3 separate regions of the Homo sapiens genome follow, and all the other regions are linked to region 2. The links are contacts of gene promoters, found by promoter capture Hi-C in human tissues and cell types (Jung and others, 2019). All regions are on one chromosome and are shown on one strand. The core of a region is centred on a gene start or on the middle of the fragment in contact, and the rest is flanking DNA. Distances in the headings are between cores, read along the strand shown. Region 1 has its middle 16 kb from the start of LINC01315. Region 2 holds the start of CENPM (centromere protein M). Region 3 holds the start of DESI1 (desumoylating isopeptidase 1).

What was found. Contacts are between HindIII fragments. The study calls those that stand out against the background at their distance.
Region 1: a contact is called between a fragment that was not itself captured here and the fragment with the promoter of CENPM in region 2, in 1 of the 25 tissues and cell types used here (lymphoblastoid cells).
Region 3: a contact is called between the fragment with the promoter of DESI1 here and the fragment with the promoter of CENPM in region 2, in 1 of the 25 tissues and cell types used here (dorsolateral prefrontal cortex).

Annotation. Positions count from the first base shown.
Region 1 is chr22:42,352,343-42,355,042 of GRCh38, reverse strand. No RefSeq gene overlaps it. Among named protein-coding and RNA genes, the nearest start is that of LINC01315, 16 kb to the left of the region's middle. The HindIII fragment of the contact is 5,752 bases long and covers 1-2,700 here.
Region 2 is chr22:41,945,747-41,948,446 of GRCh38, reverse strand. CENPM (centromere protein M) reads left to right here and starts at 1,295. Exons shown (of 6, transcript NM_024053.5): 1 at 1,295-1,427; 2 at 1,951-2,030; 3 at 2,442-2,534. The coding sequence starts at 1,371. It also overlaps a transcript of SMIM45 not described here. RefSeq lists an enhancer at 1,282-1,491. The HindIII fragment of the contact is 14,723 bases long and covers 1-2,700 here.
Region 3 is chr22:41,619,656-41,622,355 of GRCh38, reverse strand. DESI1 (desumoylating isopeptidase 1) reads left to right here and starts at 1,313. Exons shown (of 6, transcript NM_015704.3): 1 at 1,313-1,604. The coding sequence starts at 1,517. It overlaps XRCC6 (X-ray repair cross complementing 6), which reads right to left and starts at 1,061. Exons shown (of 13, transcript NM_001469.5): 1 at 1,011-1,061; 2 at 270-366. The coding sequence starts at 351. RefSeq lists a silencer at 1,293-1,562 and an enhancer at 1,294-1,895. The HindIII fragment of the contact is 13,467 bases long and covers 1-2,700 here.

The sequences.
Region 1 (2,700 bases), core at 90-2,589, 410 kb before region 2:
TTAATTTATTTATTTATTTTGAGATGGAGTCTCACTCAGTCACCCAGGCTGGAGTGCAGTGGCACTATCTCGGCTCACTGCAACCTCCGCCTCCCGGGTTCAAGCAATTCTTGTGCCTCAGCCTCCCAAGTAACTGGGATTACAGGCATGTGCCACCACGCCCAGCTAATTTTTGTATTTTTAGTAGAGATGGGGTTTCACCATGTTTGCCAGGCTGGTCTCAAACTCCCGACCTCGTGATCTGTCTACCTCAGCCTCCCAAAGTGCTGGGATTATAGGTGTGAGCCACTGCACCCGGCTGAGGTTCATTTATTCATTCACTCATTCATTCATATTGCACATGTCTTTGGAGCATCTAATGTGAGCCCTATAGGCCCCATGCTCTGTGCAGGGGACACAACAGTGGACAAAACAGACAACACCCCTGCCCCGCTGTAGATCACATTCCAATGGACAGAAACAGACAAAAAACATAATAAGGAAGCAACAGGTATTGTGATCAAGAATGCTAAGTGCTAAGGAGAAAAATAAAACAGGGAAGGGCAGAAAGGGGATACATTTGTTTTTTTCAATTATAAATAGGTGTCCATGGAAGGTCTCATTGAGAAAGTGGCATCTGAGCAAAGACAGGAAGCGGGTGAGGAGGTGAGAAGGTAGCTCTGGGGGAAGAGCATTCCTTCCAGGCAGAGAGCAAAGGCCCTGAGTGGGGAGCGTGCCTGGCACAGTCGGGGAGTAACAGGAGCCAATGTGGCTGCAGGGAAGTGGCGGGGAGGAGGTGGCAGATGAGCTCAGAGAGGAAATGGGGGCCAGATGGTGAGGCCTCCTGGACGCACCATTTAAAAGGATCCCTCTGGCTGCTGAGTTGGGAATAGACTGGGGGAGGGGCCAGGGCAGGACAGGGAGACAGAGAGGAGGCTCTGAAAAGAATCTAACAGGATTTGCTGATGGATTGGATGCAGGAGAGAGGGAGTGAGCAGAGGCGTCAAGGATGATTCCCGAGAGATCTGGTCAATTTGGCTGGAAGGCCAGCCGGGCCTACAGGCTCAGCTGAGGCCCTTAGGGAGGCTGGAGGACAAGGATGCCAAATGGTCAGATGCCCATGGCCAAGTGGGGGTTCCAGCTTGGCAACCCTGTGGTTCGGAGAGCTGGGGACCTCTGCACCCCGGCAGTTCATGGGACTATGTGGATCCCATCCTGGCCTCTCTGAGCTCTGGACTAGGGGCTGGGCCTAAAGTGGCCCATGGGTGGCTGGGCGAGGTGGCTGATGCCTGTAATCCCAGCACTTTAAGAGGCCGAGGCCGGCGGATCACTTCAGGTCAGGAGTTCGAGACCAGCCTGGCCAACATGGTGAAACCCTGTCTCTACTAAAAATACAAAAATTAGGCAGGTGTAGTGGCAGGCACCTGTAATCCCAGCTACTTGGGAGGCTGAGGCAGTCAGGAGAATCGCTTGAATCTAGGAGACGGAGATTGCAGTGAGCTGAGATCGTACCACTGCACTCCAGCCTGGGCAACAGAGAGACATTCTTTCTCAAAAAAAAAAAAAAAAGTGGCCCATGGGCTGGTATGAATCCCCCCACCCACCCACTCACCCCCAGATATCTCCCACCCTCCTTCCTGTCCTCCCTCCTTCCTTCCCTACTCTCCATGCCCATCCCTCTTCTCACCCTTCCCCCAACCCCACCTTGGCACCCAGACAAGAGATCCCAGGTGCTGGGGCCACATCCGTGAACATGACAGACAGGGTCCCTGTTCTCCAGGACTTTGACATTGTGTGTCTGAGCCTGGGACAACTTCTCAACCGGGTGCACAATACAATCTTTCTGATTTAAGGTCTTTTTTTAAAATTATTAAATAAAATTGTTTTAAGAAACAGGGTCTCACTCTGTCACCCAGGTTGAAGCGCAGTGGTGTGATCACAGCTCACTGCAGCCTTGAACTCCTGGGCTCACGGGATCCTCCCACCTCAGCCTCCTTAATAGCTGGGACTACAGGTGTGCACCACCATGTCCCACTATGATTGTTACATATTTCTATGTCATTTAAAATAAAGTCACTATCAAAAAAAACTGGCCAACCACAGTGGCTCATCCCTGTAATCCCATCACTTTGGGAGGCTGAGGCGGGAGGATCACTTGAGCTCAGGAGTTCAAGACCAGCCTGGGTGACATACGGAGAGCCCGTCTCTACAAAAAATTTAAAAATTAGCCAGGTGTGGTGGTGTGCACCTGTAGTCCCAGCTATTCAGGAGGCTAAGGTGGGAGAATCCCTTGAGCCCAGGAGTTTGAGGTTGCAGTGAGCTATGATTGCACCGCTGCACTCCAGCCTGGGCAACAGAGAGAGAACCTGTCTCTAAAAAGTGTTTTTTTTTAAATTTTTTTTAATTAAATGAACTAAAAGAAAAAATTCCTGGTCCAGCCACATCCCCTGGTTTGGGTTCCAGCAAAGACTACTAGAGTGGCGACCCCCTGCTGCTGAGGCCCACTGGGGAAGGGAGCTAGGGGCAGGGCATCTGGGGTGGGAAGTGTGGCAGGAGCAAGGGCACAGAGCAGAGAAGAGTGTGCGGGATGGGATGGGAGTGAAGGAACCGGGCGGGCGCAGGGGAGGCTGCAAAGCCAAGTGGACTGGCCCTGGAGGGTCTCATGGGCCTGGCTGGAGCATCTGGACTTTGTTCAGAGAGCAGTAGGGAGCAATCAAAGGT
Region 2 (2,700 bases), core at 46-2,545:
GTGTCTCTGCTCTCCCAGTTATTACAACAATGAACACACTGTTATCATTGTCTATCCCACCCCCATCAAACTAAGTTAATCAATAATGTCTGATTCAACTGACTTCCTAGGGTAGGGCATTGGGTCTGGGCATAGGAAATGATGAATGAATGACTGCTGAGAATGAATGGATGAATGTAATCCATCCATTCACTCAACAAATATTTATTAACTACGATGTACCAGGGACTTTTAGAGTGCTGGACATACAAAGTGACAAAGTCTCTAACCTCTTGTTTCTTACATTTTAGATGTAGAGACAGTGAACAAGTTATTATATAACTGTTGGCAGAACCAGTTTGCTATGGGCCCTGAGCGTCCCTGCATGTTCTTGCTGGGTATGTCAAGAAAGCAAGACCCTGACAGCTCTGTACTCAGGCTGTGTTTGCAGCAAGGAACCTTGAAAGATGAGGTAAAGTCTCCCATTGGACAAAGAACAGCATGCTTACCACTCACTGTAAAAGCAGTCAATTGGCAGGGCCTGCTGGTGTGCAGCGGTAGTCCCAGCTACTCAGGAGGCTGAAGCAGGAGGGCTGCTTGAGGCCAGGAGTTTACGACCCACCTGGGCAACATGGCCAGATCCCCATGGTGGCACTTGCCTGTAGTTCCAGCTACTCAGGAGGCTAAGCCAGGAAGATGACTTGAGCCCAGGAGTTTGAAGCTGTAGTGAGCTATGATCGTGTCACTATAGTCCAGCCTGGGCAACAAAGTGACGCTCCAAAAAAAAAAAAAAAAAAAGGGCCAGGCACGGTGGCTCACGTCTGTAATCTCAGCACTCACTTTGGGAGGCCGAGGCGGGATCACTTGAGGCCAGGAGTTTGAGACCGGCCTGGGCAACTTGGAGAAACCCCGTCTCTACTAAAAATAAAAAAATAAGTCGGGCGTGGTGACGCGCGCCCGTAGTCCCAGCTCCTTGGGAGGCTGAGGCAGGAGAATCGCTTAAACTCGGGAGGCAGAAGTTGCAGTGAGCCGAGATTGCGCGCATTGCACTCCAGCCTGGGCCACAAAGCGAGACTCTGTCTCAAAAAAAAAAAAAAAAAGTACTGTGTATGAGCATGAATGAATGAAAGTGAACAAAGGAATCACTAAAAACCTGCTTACTGTGGAGCGTGGAACCAAAGGCCTGTCCACCACGTGTTCCACGGGTAGCGCTGGAACGCCCCTCAGAAAAGGAGATAAAGGTTCGGTTCCTTTAAGAGGCCCCGTCCCGTCCCGCGAAGCCCCGCCTATAAGGAGGCACGTGCCCCCAGGCCGCGCTCTAGGGGCTGGACTCAGGGCGGTTTGAAAGATCGGCGCGCACCGCAGGAGCAACGGTTGGTCCTGCGGCTGTGATGTCGGTGTTGAGGCCCCTGGACAAGCTGCCCGGCCTGAACACGGCCACCATCTTGGTAGGTGCAGGCGGCCCTGCTTCCCCCGCCGGTTTTTCCTCCTGGGCGGTGCTTCAGCCACTAGGTCAACTGAGCTCTCTGAGGCGCCAAGCCAGCGCGCGCTACCGTGGCGGGGGCGGGGAATAGGCGGAGAGCCATGCTCTGAACCAATTGGAGTAGCCGCTCTCTGAGGTTGAGGGACGCACCCACCAATAGGTGCTCGGCGGACCCTTTCCCAGCTTCTGATTGGCGAGTTCCCGCGCCTGGAATTGGTTTTCCCGCGTCTGGGGGTCTGGCCTCCTGGAGAGGCCGGCGGTGGGAGCGAGGGTCGGGTAGTAGAGAGTGCGGTGCCCACAGGCCTGCAGCGGGTCCAAACCTCAGGCCCCCAGCCCGTGCCGCTTCGCGGGGTCCACTTCTCGGGAAATGTCCTCCGAGCCGCCTGCTGGCGGTGTCCCGATCCCCCCGGGAGTGGGTCGAAGGGCCAGGCCCTCCCCAGGGGGTGCTGTGCCTAGGGCTCGACTGTCCGCTCTCTCTCCCTGCGCAGCTGGTGGGCACGGAGGATGCTCTTCTGCAGCAGCTGGCGGACTCGATGCTCAAAGAGGACTGCGCCTCCGAGCTGAAGGTGTAAGTAGCCGCGGCTGTGGCCTGGGCCCACGTGTCTCTCACTCCAGAGGGATTCGGTCCTAGCTGCTAAACTCCGAAGCCCAGCGCCCCCTCCTCTGAGGCTGGTCCTTCTCCCAGCATGCAGCGTAGCTGGCTAGTCCCATGCCGTCTTATATCCCAACCTCCCCTTGCCGAGGTGGTGACTAAACAGAGCCCGTTTCTGGCAGAGGGAATCAGACAGGAGTAATCTGAATAGGACCGGACCTGTCCTGCCTCTGTGCTGGCCCAAGGAGTCGTGGCCACAAGAGCCTCGGGTGGCTAGGATGAGGTGGGGAGCCCTTGACGGCCTCTTTCCACATGAAGGGCAGCATTTAAACGGTCGCTATGAGGGGGGTACGGATATCTTGAGTCCTGCAATTTCCTGTTTTTCAGCCACTTGGCAAAGTCCCTCCCTTTGCCCTCCAGTGTGAATCGGCCCCGAATTGACCTGATCGTGTTTGTGGTTAATCTTCACAGCAAATACAGGTGAGAGCCAGAGGAAGGGGCAGTCAGGGCTCAGGCAGGCCTGGCTCAGGACTGTGCTGAGACGGTGACCTAACTTGTGATGGGAAGTGGTGAGGATGGGAGAGGCTGGCTGAGGTCAATCTGTAAGGTGAGGAGAGAGGAGCCAGTGGTCAGTGCACAATGTTTA
Region 3 (2,700 bases), core at 64-2,563, 330 kb after region 2:
TGACAAAAAATACCTATGGTCATGGCCATTTATCAGGGACCAAAAGATGTCAAACTACCAGTGTCCAAAAAAAACTTAGGGCACACTAGAGTAAGATCTGCATATAAGAGCCTAGGGTAGCTCTGCGAAGTTCAAAGGAAGAAAAGAATTTCAGAATTATCTGGGAGGAGAAGGGCAGGCCATCAAACAGCAAAGTCCATCCAGCAGAGATAGGCAGGGAAGGTCTTTCTTCCACACACCGAATGGCACTACATGCTGAAGTCACTTACCACTTGCTTCAAGGTTCTCTTCTTGTTCTTCCTCTGCTTCTTCATCGCCCTCGGTTTTGTAATATGACTCCCACCCTGACATGTTGGCTACTGCTCACTAGGCGAAAGACGTTAACGTCAGTAACAGGCAAATTTAAATCGAAAAAATACCGACCTCTAGGTTCTTGTGAGATCTGTTCTAAAAGCTTGGTTAGTAGTGAGGAATGTGGACGGTAAATCCTGCTGCCTCGAAAGCTCGGCAGTCGGACTGCATGTAAATGCGCATGGGGGCCATCCCAGTAGCTGCCTCATCTCAGCTATCCCTCACGTTTCAGGGCCGGCGGCGGCCCGCGGAAGCCAGATCCCGGAGGTCCCGCCCCCGACGCCATTTAGACGGTGAGGGATTCCCGCTCCAGGATTCTATGCTGACTAACGGACCCCCTCGTCCTCAATACCGCCCAAAAACCTCCCCAAATTCCTCAATCACGCCCAATGAGATCTCAAACGCAGACAGGCCTCAAGCGCAGGCGGGCCGCAAGCGCAGGCGGGCCTCAAACGCAGGCGGGCCTCAAACGCGAGGTGCCGCCTCCTTCCCGAGGAAGGAGCGTGGTCTCGAGTCTGTCGCTGCTCCTCGGATTCGCACACTTAAGGCTAACGCTAACCCTCTAGCAAGGCTATGGGGGCGCGCGAGACCGACCGAGCGAAGCGGGACGAGGCCAGGCCTAGCTGGCGAACAACACAAATGGATAACGGCCCGCTTACCTTTGGCGCAGGGAAGCGACCAACTTGGACAGAAGACGACAATCCACGCATGCGCGGGCCCTGTACTCGGTCCCAATCAACGCCCTCTACGTCATCACGCATGTGCGCACTATATCGCGTCAGGCTGGCACGCACACTCCCCAACCAGCTTCTACCTATGTCCCTGACGAAAGCCAACCCATCAGCGAGAGCCCCGCCCCCTTCGGCAAAGCCCCGCCCCTTCCTACGTCAGGACTGTAAGCACATGCGCAAAAGTGCATCCCTGCCCCCGCCCCCTCTTCCGTGTGGGCCCTCCCTGTCCCCTCTCTGTCACCTCACAGTAGTCGTTGCCGGTAGCGGGTGTGGGGGCGCGAGCAGCGCAGGGCGGCCTCTCCCCCACCCCTCAGCCCGGGCCCGGGCTCGGTCCCCCCCTCTCCCTCCGCTTCGCACTCCCGTCGGGTACGGGAAGGTCCAAGCCGCTGCCGGGTGCCCGAGGGCCGTCGTGGCCGCCGTCGCCACGGGTCCCAATGGAGCCGCCGAATCTCTATCCGGTGAAGCTCTACGTGTACGACCTGTCCAAAGGCCTGGCCCGGCGGCTCAGCCCCATCATGCTGGGTGAGGGGGAAGGGGCCAGGTGGGCAGGAGGGCGGGAGCCAGGCCAGAGGGTGGCGGCTGGCCGAGGTGGGGAGACTTGGGCCACGACTCACGGGGAGACACATGGCCAGGAGGATGGAAGAAAAGCCGAGTGGAGAAGAGAGTGGTCTGAAGTTTGGGCCATCTGAGCCCCGCTTTAGCCTCGCAGATACCATCCTCACGTTTGAATTCAAGGGGAAGGGATGGAGGAGTCATGCCTCCACCTTGCAGGGGGCTTGGGCAGAAACCGAGCCCTCGAGAGCCCCTTCGACGAGGGTGTGGGGTAAACCAGCGCTGGATCCCGGCGGGTTCTCTGCCTCGCTCGGGTAGCCCAGTGCACTCCTGCCTCCTTGGCGCGGTGTAGGAAAGGTGAGGATGCCTGCCGCGCGGTGCCCCTCGTGGTGACAGAGACACTGCGGAGGTCGGGTGGCTCTCGGAGAACCTTGTCTCAGTGCCAAAAGGAAGCTCCCTTTGCAGTCCCAGGGATAGGTGGGATGGGGGAGATAGAGCTGCCTAGGGACCCAGCCATCGCCCCCAGGTAGGTCAAGTCAGGATAAGAGGAGCCCCGAACTCCAGAATTCACCAAGCAGTCTTCTCCCCACAGTTTCTAAGTTAATTGCTTTTGCTCAAATGGCAAGAAAGCAGTTTTGGGGGAAGTTTGGATGAGGCTGTGTGAATAAGGATTAGTAAAGAAAGTATTTCGGTTGTGCTCCATTAAACTACTTAACTGGCAGGAGAAAAACCAGCCCTCATTCAGTGACGATCACACCTTATTTCAACTTAAATACAGGAATGTCTTGTGTAACACAGGAATTGTCAGGTTTGTAATTTCGGGTAACAATGAGCAGGAAAGAATTCCAATTATTGAAAATTGAAGCTTTGACAGCATCCATTTGAATGGCTAGTTTTTCCTGGCTTCTGTGGAGACACTGGCGAATGATTTAGTTCATCTCTGTGAGACGAGGGGGCAGAGATCAAGTAAGGGAGGCTACTTTTGAGGGCATCCTTCAATGTCCTTGAGTTTCTAATATGTCGTAGTGAATTGAACTTAATCTCACAACCGTGGGTCCATGAGTTG